Linked DNA regions of Homo sapiens: all the other regions are linked to region 1. The links are contacts of gene promoters, found by promoter capture Hi-C in blood cells and fetal thymus (Javierre and others, 2016). All regions are on one chromosome and are shown on one strand. The core of a region is centred on a gene start or on the middle of the fragment in contact, and the rest is flanking DNA. Distances in the headings are between cores, read along the strand shown.

Region 1 (3,487 bases), core at 250-2,749:
GCAAGGTGGAGGTTGCAGTGAGCCGAGATCATGCCACTGCACTCCAGCCTGGTGACAGAGCAAGACTCTGTGTCAAAAAAAAAAAAAAAAAAAAAGCCTTGGTTGTAGGGAGTTTCTCCTAATCCCTCTGGGAAAGCAAGGGTGGAGGGGAAGCCAGTCAATCTCCCTTCTGTTGCCGCATGGAAACTCCCTTAAGGCAGGAAGCTGAAAAAACTGTAGCATTCACCTCATTATTCACCTTGTCTCATGTCTCACTGTCCTTCCACATGTCTCATTGTTACTCCATATTGGATGGAAGTAGAAGTCCCTTTGGTATTTTTTAAAGTCTTTGCCATGTCTAAGTTAATGAGGTTAATGGAGGCAGCAGAGATGGCTCCAGGGTTCTGATAGCAAGTGTCAGGCTGCGTGCTCTGTAGGCACCAGAAACTGTTGTCACCAGTAATTTTGATGTGGTCTGAGTTAGAATGGTCTGATTTGCCATGATCTATTTAACATAGCTTGATTTAGCGTGTCCTGTGTTCTGAATTTAAAACTCACAGTTGTGAAACTGATCAGTAAAAAATAAGGGGAGACCAACTAAAAACCATGTTGTTCTATTTATAGATGTAGTTTTTACTTATTTCAAAATACGAGGTATTTAGTTTTACATTCAAATTGTTCTCTAACTCTCTAAAATGTTCTCTGACTATTTTTGCCCTTAAGGGAGAAACCAGATGTCATTGGTCTTACGTGGCTGGTGTTGGGGGTGGGGAGGGTTAAAGAAACCACGTTCTCTGTCCTCAGCCAGAAGTTCAGTAATCCAAGGCCAGAGAGTGGACGGCAGAGGCACTGTCCCTGGGGACCTTGGTTATAAGTTATCCAGACACAGGGACCAGAGCCTGGGAGACAAAAAAAGATGTAGCCCTAGGGCTTTGGGAAAAGGAGGATGGACCCAGTGAATTCCACGCTTAGCAAGGACCTAAACAGTGTCCCCCAAATGAGAGAAGGGAGGACAGAAAGAACACTTCAGGATGGAAATGGGCTGACACTTAACCGTGGAGTGTCTCTGCAAACTTCCTTTGCCATTCTCCTGTTTGAGTTTGATAAACCTGAGAAGAGACTTGGATAAAGACCGTCACGAAGACTACACTAATGAGTTTCTTCTAGCTTTTTTCTACTCACTTTCCCTATCTATCCTTCACATTGGGAGTTGGCATGAGGATCCCAGCAGCCCATCAGGGGAGGACTCTAGAGATCCCTTTCCCCATTGCCTCTCCTCCCCATACCCCCAGGCATATCCTCCCAGGGCACGGAAGCTGAGAAGCAGTCCAGAACCACAGTGGGCTAGTGAGGGGTACCTGCTGATGTACCCTTTGGACAGCATTCTGCCCCACCCTGCAGGAAGAAGCAGAAGGAGGGAGAGGGTGAGGCAGAGAATAAATAACCCTGACCAGGGAGGTCCAAGGGAGTAGGCGGAGACAGAGAGGCTGTATTTCAGTGCAGCCTGCCAGACCTCTTCTGGAGGAAGACTGGACAAAGGGGGTCACACATTCCTTCCATACGGTTGAGGTGAGTGCAGGAGGCCAGGGGCATGTCCAGGTGCATGGGTTACTTGCAGCTAGGGGTCTCCTGTTAGACTTGCTGAGTGCATGAGAAGCCAGGCTGTGAAGAACCAGAAGTGGGAGATGTGTAGGAAGCCCCTGACTCAAAGGACAGGCAGCCTTAGTGATCTCTAGGTTTGTGTGCTGAACAGAAAGCATGTGGGTGCTGGAGGTAGCCTAAGGGTAGTTTTCAAGCAGTTTTTCAGTGATTAGTTTACTAGTATGCCCATCTGGAGGCTGGCAGGGGCTGATGTGAATGAGGACAGAGGACAGAGGACAGGCTGGGCTGGGGTTAGACTGGGGCTGCATTGGGGTTGGGTCGGGGTTTGGTGTGTGAACAGGGTGAACGTGGTTGAAGCTCAGTCTATGACTGGGGATGAGGCTGCAGCTGGGGTGGAAGTGGGGCTCTGAGTGAGGTTGGTTTCACTGTATGCTGTACATCAGGAGTCAGGCTGTGGCTGAGACTGGGACTTAGTAATCTTCCTGGGGCTCCGATCTCAGCTTGGTCTGTGTCTAGGATCAGGATTCAGTCTTCAGCCCATTTAAAAAGTAGATTAGTGTCCACACGGCAACACCCCTTGCCTTGTACTCTTTACCCTAGCTACACTAAGTCACTTTCAGCTTTCCAAACAAGGTCTGTTCTCTTTCTCTCTGGCTCTTTGTATTAGCCAGGATGTATTTTTAAAAACAAACTAGATAAGTTCTGTTGCTGAAATTCCCCCAAGTCACTCAGAATTAAACCAAAGCTCCTTGCCATACCCTGCAAGACCCTGTTACCTGATGAGGTCCTTGCCTTCCTCCCGCCTCATCTTCTCAAACTCTGTTGTGCTCTTGATGCTCTGGCCACCTTGACCTTCCTTTTGTTCCATGAATCCCCCAATATCATTCTTGCTGGGGGACGCTTTTCTCTTGCTGTCTCCCACAGTTGGAATGCACTTTCCCTGGATCTTAGAATGGCTGGTGTTTTCTCATCACATGTCACATCCTTAAGAGAGGCTTTTTCTGACCCCTGTCTCCAGTATGAGTGTCCTGCACCCATCTTCCTCTGTCCTATCACTCTTTCTTTCGTGCCCTTATCTTCAACTGAAATTTTATTTGTTTACTTCTCATTATTGGCCTCGTGTTATATGAGCTCCATAAAAGCCATCATCTTGTCTGATTTATCTACTGTTTCATCTCCAGTTTTTGACACTCAATATGTTTTTGTTGTCTAACCGAATGCTGCTGTGCCCCACCCCATTAACTGCCTGTGTCACTGCCCCATTACCTGCCTGCAGCAGGTCCCGCCACTGCCATGGCTTAAATGTCACCTCCTCAGGGAAGCCCTTGGAACCTAAAAAGCTTGCTGAGCTATTGTTGTCTTTGCTTCTGAGGCCCTTTTGCTTCCCCTTGTCCCAGAATTTATCATAATGTGCTGTGATGGCTGCATATTTGTCTCAATTTCTCCCCATCCTTGGAAGGCTGGAACGATATCTCTGGTACTCAGTGGAGTCTGGCACAGAAGTCCGTCAATGATTATTGAAAAAATGAGTACACTGATCAAAATCCCACTTTGGGCATTTCCCTTGCCTTACATTTGCTTGCAGCCAGAATAGCTCTACAGGGAACTGGTAACTAGGTGCAGCTTTGCAGATCTTTAGAACACTTATCTGGTCCTACTCAGGAAGTGGAGGAGCAGAGACCTGAAACCTAGGAACTCTGCCTAGGGGTGATTTTAGGTGGTCAGGCTGACTTGAGTGACCAGGGTGGGGTGAGGGCTCACTTGGCTTTTTGGGAGTTAGAAGTTGCTCTCTCTCATCTTTCCATTTTCATCTTGGCCATTTTAAGAAGAGTGACCAACACCTTGCAAGGGTTCATCTGCTTTATTAAATACAAGCAAGGTGTGGGGCACAGTGGATGCAGATAAT
Region 2 (3,487 bases), core at 496-2,995, 1.7 Mb after region 1:
AACAGACCAGCATCCAATAGACCCAATGCAGCATTTTTCTTCCTGGTTCCACATTAATACATCCTATCTCTGCTATGCTTAGGTCCCTGATTTATAAATATTTCAGACATATTTTCTCAGGACACAGGGAGTACTTAAACTTCCACATAGCAGAGATACGACATACAATAAGCTGTTATCTGGAAACTCCTAGTGATGCTTTGAGTACTTTACAGTAATCTTTCTGGTCTTCCTCTCAACCCCATTAAGTTTTTCTGTAACTAGCTGGTGTATCTGTCTCCATCTTTAAGGAATAAGTCCCTATTTGCTCATGCTATAATCTCCCTCATGCTCTCCGTCCCTCCTTCCCTCTCCTTCTCTCTTTCTGTCTCTCTCTCTCTCCACCCTGATTGTGAGATGCTACACCTTAATAGTTTTCTATACCTAGATCCCTTTTGAAGGAGTAATTTCAGCCATCACTGAAATCTATGCTTTTTTATCTTGTTAGATTTATTTAGGACCTAATGACTGTTTCTGAGCTAATAATAACGCAATCAGCTCATATTTTTCTGATACTCTAAGAGCAATTACATCTAGTTGCATCACCTTTTCCTTTTTTATTCATGTATCTTAGGCTTCTCAAGATATGAGACTAGCACTTGAGCCTGAGATAAGCCTTAAGAATTCCAGGATAGTCTCTCCATAGTTCCCTTTCTTGGATAAAGTCATTTCAAAACATCTTAGTGGATCAGATTTGGAGCAGCCTACTTACACTGGTGAATACCACAACTAATAAATAATTGTTCTGCACCCCACCCACATCTAAAGGATTCAGGGTGTCTTTTACAGATATAGGACTCTCCTTTCTCTGTTTCTCTTCTCTCTCTTCTCCTTGATTAAAGCTTTGCTTCAGCTGTCCCTGCTCACTACGGCACTGCACCTCACCAGCATCTTCATGGCCCTCACATGGCTCATGTGCATATCCTAACTCTGATACTAAGGGAGGAGACCACCCCTCATATTGTCTTATGCCCAATTTCTGCCTCCAAAGAAAGAAGAAGTAAAAACTAAAAGGCAGAAATGAAATCCACAAGCAGACAGCCCGGCGCCACACCCTGGGCCTGGTAGTTAAAGATCGACCCCTGACCTAATCGGTTATTTGCATAAGAAAAGCACTGTGAAGATCCCTGTCCTGTTCTGTTCCATTCTAATTACCGGTGTATGCAGCCCCCAGTCATGTACCCCTGCTTGCTCAATCGATCACGACCCTCTCACGTGGACCCCCTTAGAGTTGTGGGCCCTTAAAAGGGACAGGAATTGCTCACTCGGGGAGCTTGGTTGTTGGAGATGTGAGTCTTGCTAAAGCTCCCAGCCGAATAAAGCCCTTCCTTCTTAACTCGGTGTCTGAGAGGTTTAGTCTGCAGCTTGTCCTGCTCTAATACCTGTGTAGTTCAAGAATAATCTACAGCACATTACACCCAAGGCTCTCACTTTGGCTATAGTTGTGTCTTTACTGAGCCATCCCCCAACCCCGCCCACAGTGGCATCTGGCTAAGGCCTACCCTTTTGAATATTAAGGACACCCACATGCACCTTGACAGAGACATTTTGGCTGAAGGCAGGCAAGACCCATCTACTGTTCCCCTAAGGTCAGCCCAGAGCCCTGCCTCTATTAAAAACAGATCCTTACCTGTGGATAAGGTAACCTGTGGGTAACAGATCCTTACCCGAGACTTGTGGGGCCCCATCAAGGTGAAAGTCCCACCTGGGCCCGGGCATGGGGAGTCATGCCTGTAATCCCAACACTTTGGGAGGCCAAGGAGGGTGGATCACCTGAGATCAGGAGTTCGAGACCAACCTGACCAATACGGTGAAACCCCGTCTCTATTAAAAATACAAAAATTAGGTGTGATGGTGCACACGTGTAGTCCCAGCTACTTGGGAGGCTGAGGCAGGAGAACTGCTTGAACCCAGGAGGTGGAGGTTGCAGTGAGCCGAGATCGTGCCACTGCCCTCCAGCCTGGGCGACAGAGTGAGACTCCATCAAAAAAAAAAAAAAAAAAAAAAACTCCCCCTGGCCAGCAATGAAAACCTGAAACTTCCTCCCCAGTTACAACTGATAAAAACCAGTTACATCCATTAAAAGAGACTTCTGGCTTAATATAAACTTCCACAAAACCACTGCAATCACAAATGTATGCTTGCTCAAGTCCAAACCCAAAACTGGCTTCACCAAAAGCCTCTTAACATAATAGTTGGGTCTCCAAATTTCACTCCCTGTTTATTTTTTAAGGCTCCTGGTCCAGTGAATCAGATGTTGAAGTTGTGTGTTGAAGATGTGCCTCAATAAACGGCACATCTTTCCCTCTCCTGAGTTCAACACCAGTTAAAAGGTAGAAACCAATAATCATTTCTATGACTGACAAAGTTAATATTAGAAAGATGGCTTATATCATTGGATAAAATAACTTTCTAATAGTGAATCCCAGAAATAAAAAGAGGTTTACCTACACAGCTATAGTTCATACTGGAAAAATGAGGTCTACCAATGGGGCAAGCCCCTTTAGAATGTCCTTTGAAGTGCATGCTTTTGAGGTCAACCTGGATCCCAAAGAGACAACTGGGAAAGCTGAAGCTTGTTCTTCCCAAATGTATCATTTAGCTAAGTCATTGACTTCTCTTCTGGAGAGGGAGGCCAGTATTATTACTCTAAAAGAGCTCCCTCCATGTGAAATGAACCATTGAGAGCGAAGAAAAGCACTTTTCTCCAGTCGTAGTCAAGGTTAACCATCCTAATGGATAAAGAAAATGTGGGATATATTCAGCCCTTATAAAGAAGGAAATCCTTTCATTTGTGACAATATGGAGAAACCTGGAAAACATTATGTGAAGTAAAACAAGCCAGACACAGAAGGACAAATATTGCATGATTTCAGAAATATGTGGAATCTTTAAAAAGTCAAACTTATAGAAGCAGAGAGTAGAATAGAAGTTACCAGTAGCTGCGGCCAGGCGCGGTGGCTCACGCCTGTAATCCCAGCACTTTGAGAGGCCGAGGTGGGCGGATCACGAGGTCAGGAGATCCAGACCATCCTGGCTAACACAGTGAAACCCCGCCTCTACTAAAAATACAAAAAATTAGCCGGTCGTGGTGGCGGGCGCCTGTAGTCCCAGCTACTCGGGAGGCTGAGGCAGGAGAATGGCATGAACCCGGGAGGCGGAGCTTGCAGTGAGCCGAGATCGCGCCACTGCACTCCAGCCTGGGCGACGGAGCCAGACTCCGTTTCAACAAAAAAAAAAAAAAAAAAAAAAAAAAAGTAGTTACCAGTAGCTGGGGCTGGGGGTTGGGGTGCTGGGCGAGTAGGGAGATTGGGGAGACGTTGATCAAAAGGCACAAAAGTTTCCTCCAGTTAGACAGGAAGAATCAGCTCAGAAGATTTACTGTACAATACGATGACCATAGTTAATAACAATGTATTATACATTTGAAAATTGCTAAGAGTAGATT
Region 3 (3,487 bases), core at 255-2,754, 1.2 Mb after region 1:
TGCCTTTTTATACGTTAACAACAATCTGAAAAGAAATTTAGAAAAAACAATTCACAATAGCACATAAAATAATAAAATACATAAGAAAATACAAAATACATAATAAAATTATATTTTATTTTTAATTCCATTGTAAATTAAATTATTTTCCTAATTTCCTTTCAGATTGTTTGTTATTAATGCAAAAGCAAGAAACTTATATAATTAAAACTGTAAAATATTGCCGAAATAAATTAAAGAAGACATTAATAAATGGAAATACATGCCATGTTCAAGGGGTGGACGATAGTATTGTTAGGATGTCAGTACAACCCAAAGTAATCTACAGATTTAGTAAAATCCCTATCAAAATCCCAATAATTAATTTTGCAGAAATAGAAAAATCCATTCTACAATTCATATGAAATCTCAAGGGACCCTACATAGCCAAAGCAATCTTGAACAAAGAGAAAAGCTGGAGGACTCACATTTCTGATTTCAAAACTTATGACAAAGTGACAGTAAACCAAAACAGTGTGGCACTAGCACAAAGTCAGAACTGCAGACCAATGAAGTAGAACAGAGAGCCCAGAGTGAACCCTCACATATGTGGTAAAGTTACTTTTGACAAGAGTGTCAATATCATTCAATGTTGAAAGGACATTCTTTACAATAAATAGTGCTGAGAAAACTGGGTATCTACATGTACAGAAATGAAGTTGGACTGTTACATAACAGCATGTCCAAATATTAACTCAAAATGGATCAAAGACGTAAAAATAAAACCTAAAATTATGAAACTCTTGGAAGAAAACAAAGAGAAAAAATTTTATGACATTGGATTTGGTAATGATTTCTTGGAAATGACACTAAAGGCACAGGCACAGGAAACAAAAGAAAAAAACAGATAAATTAGACTTTATGAAATTTGTTTTTAAATTGTGCATCAAAAGATTCTATAAACAAAGTAAAAAGGCAACCCACAGACCAGAAGAAAATATTTATAAATTATATATCTGATAGGTATTAATATCCAAAATATATATAGAGCTCCTAAACCTCAACAACAACAACAAACAGCTTAATAAGAAATGGGCAAAGGATTAGAATAGACATTTCTCCAAAGAAGATATACAAATGGATAATAAACACATAAAAGACACTGGACATCAGTAATCATTAGGGAACTGCAAATTAAAACTACAATAAAAAACCACCTTACACCAATTAGGATGGCTACTATAAAAATAAACAGAAAATAATAAATGTCAGTGAGAATGTAGAGAAATTGGACACTTGTGCCCTTTTGGCAAAAATGTAAAATGCTACAGCTGCGGTGGAAAACAGTATGGTAGTTCCTCAAAAAATTAAAACTAAAAATAGCATATGATTCAGCAATCTCACTATTGCGTGAGATCCCCAGGAGAATTGAAATCAGTATGTTGAAGAGGTGTCTGCAGTCACACGTTCATTGCAGCATTATTCACAGTAACCAAGATATAAGAACAATCTAATTGCCCATCAATGGATGAATGAATAATGGATAAGCAAAATGTAGTATGTATGTGTATGTGTGTATATACATGTGTGTATATACGTGTGTATATATACATTATATATGTATATATATATGTATGTGTGTATATACCTGTACATATAATGCAATATTACTCAGACTTAAAAAGGAAGAACATTCTGACATCTGCTACCACATAGATGAAACTTAGGACATTATGCTAAATAAAATATGCCTGTCACAAAAAGACAAATATCATATGATTCCATTTATATAAAGTACCTAGAAAGGTCAAAATCATTAGACAGCAGAAAGAATAGTGGTTGCCAGAGGCTGGTGGGAGGGCAAATGGAGAGTTATTGTTTAATGGGTGTAGAGTTTCAGTTTGACAGGATGAAAAGAGTTCTGGAGATGGAGAGTGGTGATGGCTGCAAAACATGATGAATGTATTTAATGCCACTGAACTGTATATACCTGAACATGATTAAGATGGCAAACTTTGTTATGTATATTTTACTACACTACAAAAAGAATGAATCGGGCATGTCAATAACTAAACCAAACACAATACAAATATTTATGAGCAAAGTGATAAATTATAGGGCACCCTATGAACTTTCTTTTTAAAGAACTGCATAGGAGGTCTTCATGCAGTTGAGTGTAAACAGTGCGGAGGCCATGTATGGTCTCCAATTTAGGAAGCCTGATCTAAATCTTCTTTTTTTGAGAGACACGGTCTCACTCTGTCACCCAGGCTGGAGTGCAGTAGAGTTATCTCAGCTCACTGCAACCTCTGCCTCCCAGGCTCAAGCGACCCTCCCATCTCAGCCTCCCGAGTTGCTGGGACTACAGGCTTGCACTACCACGCCTGGCTAATCTTTGTATTTTTAGTGGAGACGGGTTTCACCATATTGTCCAGGCAGGTCTCAAACTCTTGGGCCCCCCAAAGTGCTGGGATTATAGGTGTGAGCCACTGCGCCTGACCTCCTGATCTAAATCCAACCAATGTTTCATACCAATTCTCATTTTTCTACATTTTTAGATCTAAAAGAGAAGAGTTTACACTGAAACTCATATATGTATTTTTGTAATAGCTGCATTAATTTAAATTTTGACAAAATAATTTTGTGTGTATTCTATTGTTTTATAAACACAACTAAATTTTTCATTTAAATGAAAGTTTTGTTTCCAAGGAGTCGCAGGAATCTTTATACACCTGTATGTAATATTGCTAATGCTGAAAGCTAAACAAAACAACAAAAGGAATACATTAATTTTTTAAATACTTATAAAAGAAATTTCTGGAAATACATACATCAGACTTTAGGTTTTAATAGCATTTACTTCAGAAGTGGATTAAGGTGAAATGTGAGTTTATGGGAATGTTATGACTATTTTCTACTTCATATCATTTCATACAAAAGAGTTTAAGTATAGAAAAATTGTGTTTTGTGGGGTTTTTTAGTAAAAAGGAAGAAAGGTCAAAATATACAATTACTTTCCACTATAATATAAAATTTAAAACCAATACTACCTTGAAAAAAAAGTTTGCAAATACAACAGACAATGGGTTGATAATTTTCATTTTGAAAGTGCTTATCATGCAATGAATAAACACTAACACCTCCAATGAAGATGGACAAGGAGGTGGATGACTAATAAATATACAAAAAAAGTTGACCAAGAACGCTTGAAAAAAGTGACATACTTACTACTAGTGAAGTTAATTTTAATTCAATTTAAAATACAAGTGAGACAGTATTTGCACTAGTGAAGCTTGGGAAAGAAGGTATATAATAGTATTCTTGGGGGCATGGTTCAGTCGCTTTGCATGGAAATGAACATCACCACAGATTTTATTGAAATGATTTTTTCTAACGTTTATCAACACAATTAAAATTGTGCATGCCTTTTGAGCCCATAAACTTCAATAACATTTCTATCTATCGGTAGAGAAGAAAAATCAGAAATGCATACAGAGTGGATTAAGAT
Region 4 (3,487 bases), core at 306-2,805, 1.2 Mb after region 1:
AGGGTTCCTCATCAATATTGTGCAATTATTTCTAAGTAATATCAGTCATGAATGGGAATTTAAAAACATCTGGCACCAGGGTGAGTTTGGATGAAAATGGTTCAGATAAAAAGAAAACAAATATATAAAATGCACAAAATTGCTACTATATAGGAGGGATTTAAATGAGAGAGCAGTTGAATAAGGAAGTTCTGAATTACTTCACTCTTTAGAATTTTGAAACCAAGGAATTTGCAAATTGCCTTGAGGAGGGAGAAGAGGGAGAAAATTAAATGTAGTTTAGGTCCTGAAGGAAGGGGATTCCATGAGGCTGATGTGACAAGGACCAAAGAGATATAGGCAAGCATATTTCTATACAATAATAGAAAAACTTCTCTGCCCTCCATAGATGGAAGAGTATTCCTCAGGAAGCAGTAACATCTCTACCATTGAAAATGAATTAGTGTAAGAGTTAGGATGGAGGGTGGGAAGACGGAAAAGATCAGAAAAAATAACTAATGGGTACTAGACTTATTACCTGAGTGATGAAATAATCTCCACAACAAACCCCCATGACAAAAATTTAACTATGGAACAAACCTGCACTTGTATCCCTGAACTTAAAAGTTAAAAAAAAGAACACTTGGAAGAAATTCTAGTGATCATGTAGCCCAAGTTCTTGACGACATTAATGACATATGCCGTTTTCCCACTGCTTGATACCTCAGATGGCAGTGATCCCATTATCTTATTAGAAAATTTTATCTGTGTGAATGGGCAACATTCCTCAAAGCCAAATTTACATTTCTGTAACATTTTTCTATTTATAATATGTTTATTTTGGGGATATGCAAAATAATACAAAAGACAATTTGCATGCATCTACTACATGTACTCTTCCCAATTCTAAATATCTCCGATTTCATTAATTTTTAATTTTTGTAGATAAGATTAAGGACATCTTGAAACTTGAAATCATGTCTTCCTAATACGTTTTTATTTTTCAAAGTTTATTGTGACACTAATTTGTTAAGGTATTTATGTATAAGCAGGAGAACCATCCAAAAAGGAGATTTTAGAATTTATTCATCCATCCGTTCATTATACAGCTTGGGATGAACATAGCAGGCATTGATACTGCAAGTAGAAATATCTTTAATTGTACATGTTTGTTAAGCTTGAGAAAACTTCAGTAGGTATGGATGGACTGAGAGAATGAGAATTAGAATACTGGGAGATACATTCAGATATTTAAAAGAGCCCTAATTGTGTAGGATTTTGTAAACAAATATAAGGATGTTGGTGTTTGCTCTGAGTAAGACGGAAGTATCCAGGAGGTTTTAAGGGATGGCTGGATATAATTTTATTTTCACTTATTTTGTAGAGCGATATAATGATAATAATACTAACAATAATTGTGATAGTATTACGTATTTTTCTTATTATGTTCCAGGTTGTGCTGAAAAATTACATGGTTTACTTTACTTAACATTAAAAGTATTTTGCCTTAAAGCAAAATGCTTTAAAAATAATCAGTTCTATTTTTTATTGTTTTCTAGAAGGTTTTACTTTTATCTTTTTTATATACTGAGATTATTTATACAGCAACACTTGAAAAGATTTCCACTGATTAATGGTTAAAAAAAACTCTGTAGAAAACTCTAGGTTAAATCCCATCACAGCGATAGAGACAGACGGACACACACACACACACACACACACACACACACACACACAGAGAAAGAGAGAGAGAGAGAGAAGCAATCAAAATTAGAACTTTGAAGAAGGAGATTAACATATAACAGAAGATAATATAAAATAATTTGTTAAACTGCAATGATATGGAAAAATGAATAATTCAATTTGGTAATCTAAAGCAACCAATAACTGGGGAAATATTTTTAAAAAGAATGAAAGAAAGAAAGAAAGAAGGAAAGAAACAAAAGGTAAGACTATGGAGTCTCACTTTAATCAGAAAAGCTTACAAGGTTAGATTCATGTTTCAGACTTCAGAAGAAAGATGGAAAGCTAACCATTCTCAAAAACTGGACTAAAAAATTAGTAAAGATTTTATCCTACCCAATATAATTGTCTATAGTTATTTGGGGGCTAAAAATGATACATCAAAAGAAGGTATAAAATTATGATCATAGGTAATACATGTACTGTATATTAATAGTATATGTAAGCACACTTAAAGAGTGATATATATCATGGATTTATCATATGTATCATGCTTATATATATCATGCTTATCAACATAGAGATTTGAGGAGAGTTAACAAAAAGCATGAAAATTACGTAGAGCTTAATAATGTTATTAGCTAAATGCAAACATTTCAAAAATATTTCATGCTTACCATCAAGAAACCTGAAAGAATACAAAAAGAGACGAATACAAAATACACATGGCCATGATTTATAAATTGTAACTTATTATGTACCTTTTTGGCCCTTCCCATCTCTGTCCTTGATTTTTCTGACTTGGAAAATCCAGACCTGCCAGGTTTACACTTGTATATAGATCAAGCTGAATCATAATAGAAGTGCATAATTGGTAGGTGCTGACATAATTTGATTAACTATAACCCAGTGGACACATCTCAAAGTATTTCTTGAAAGAAGGGATAGTTTGTAGTGAATTAAGAAAATCAATGTTACTTAAATAGAGTTTATAATTTGGAAATTGGTTGAGGTTGCAAAGTCAAGCATTACTAAATGGCCCAGGAATGTAAGCAGACACATATAAACAGAGTTTCCAGTAGAAAACCAAGCCAGGCCAGGGCTTTGGCACTATGTTTACAATATGTTTTTATTCTGTTGGTTCAGTTACAGTCATAGGACCATTCAATAGAATCAAAAAACATAGTTTGGATACAAAATGATTATTTTTTCCTAAATTTATTATTTAGATTGTGAAAAATGCGTTTTTATATTTTTTTCTCTGGATGAAAATAATCTCACTACTCTCTCCTTATACAGGACAACTTTATTGGCACAAAAACTAGCATGTTTTGTAATTGGTGAGCATCATGAATGGAGCCAACAGCTCCAGCCTGACACCAAGATATTTCATTCTCAGTGGCGTTCCTGGGCTGGAAGCTGCACACATCTGGATCTCCCTGCCTTTCTGCTTCATGTACATCATTGTTGTTTTGGGGAACTGTGGACTTATATACCTCATTAGCCATGAGGAGGCCCTGCACCAACCCACCTACTACTTCCTAGACTTGCTGTCTCTTACAGATGTTACTGGATGCACCTCATTTGTTCCCAATATGTTATGTATTTTTTGGTTTGGCCTCAAGGAAATTGACTTTAATGCCTGCCTTGTGCAGATGTTTTTCATCCACATGCTGACAGGCATGGAGTCTGGGGCGCTCATGCTTATGGCTCTAGACCGCTATGTGGCCATTTGCTACCCTCTACACTATTCCACCATCTTCACCAACACTGTAATTACCAAAGTTGGGCTTGTCACCTTCATTCAAAGTGTGTTGCTTATGAT

Evidence for each region. Contacts are between HindIII fragments. The CHiCAGO score rates a contact against its expected background, and 5 or more counts as called.
Region 2: a contact is called between a fragment that was not itself captured here and the fragment with the promoter of OR51E1 in region 1, in 1 of 17 cell types (total B cells). The highest score is 5.4, in total B cells.
Region 3: a fragment that was not itself captured here is called in contact with the fragment with the promoter of OR51E1 in region 1 in 4 of 17 cell types (activated CD4 T cells, total CD4 T cells, naive CD8 T cells and 1 more); the score reaches 10.2 in activated CD4 T cells.
Region 4: a fragment that was not itself captured here is called in contact with the fragment with the promoter of OR51E1 in region 1 in 5 of 17 cell types (total CD4 T cells, total CD8 T cells, naive CD8 T cells and 2 more); the score reaches 9.2 in total CD4 T cells.

Annotation. Positions count from the first base shown.
Region 1 is chr11:4,642,483-4,645,969 of GRCh38, forward strand. OR51E1 (olfactory receptor family 51 subfamily E member 1) reads left to right here and starts at 1,500. Exons shown (of 2, transcript NM_152430.4): 1 at 1,500-1,548. It overlaps OR51D1 (olfactory receptor family 51 subfamily D member 1), which reads left to right. Exons shown (of 2, transcript NM_001004751.3): 2 at 1-578. The HindIII fragment of the contact is 7,717 bases long and covers 1-2,919 here.
Region 2 is chr11:6,344,995-6,348,481 of GRCh38, forward strand. LOC101927825 (a long non-coding RNA gene) reads left to right here. Exons shown (of 7, transcript XR_930998.4): 7 at 1-1,375. Among named protein-coding and RNA genes, the nearest start is that of CAVIN3, 26 kb to the left of the region's middle. The HindIII fragment of the contact is 1,733 bases long and covers 880-2,612 here.
Region 3 is chr11:5,814,336-5,817,822 of GRCh38, forward strand. The region is part of intron 1 of OR52N2 (olfactory receptor family 52 subfamily N member 2); the gene reads left to right. Among named protein-coding and RNA genes, the nearest start is that of OR52N2, 7.2 kb to the left of the region's middle. The HindIII fragment of the contact is 3,529 bases long and covers 1-3,269 here.
Region 4 is chr11:5,797,353-5,800,839 of GRCh38, forward strand. It overlaps the pseudogene OR52N3P. Among named protein-coding and RNA genes, the nearest start is that of OR52N1, 7.8 kb to the left of the region's middle. The HindIII fragment of the contact is 803 bases long and covers 1,155-1,957 here.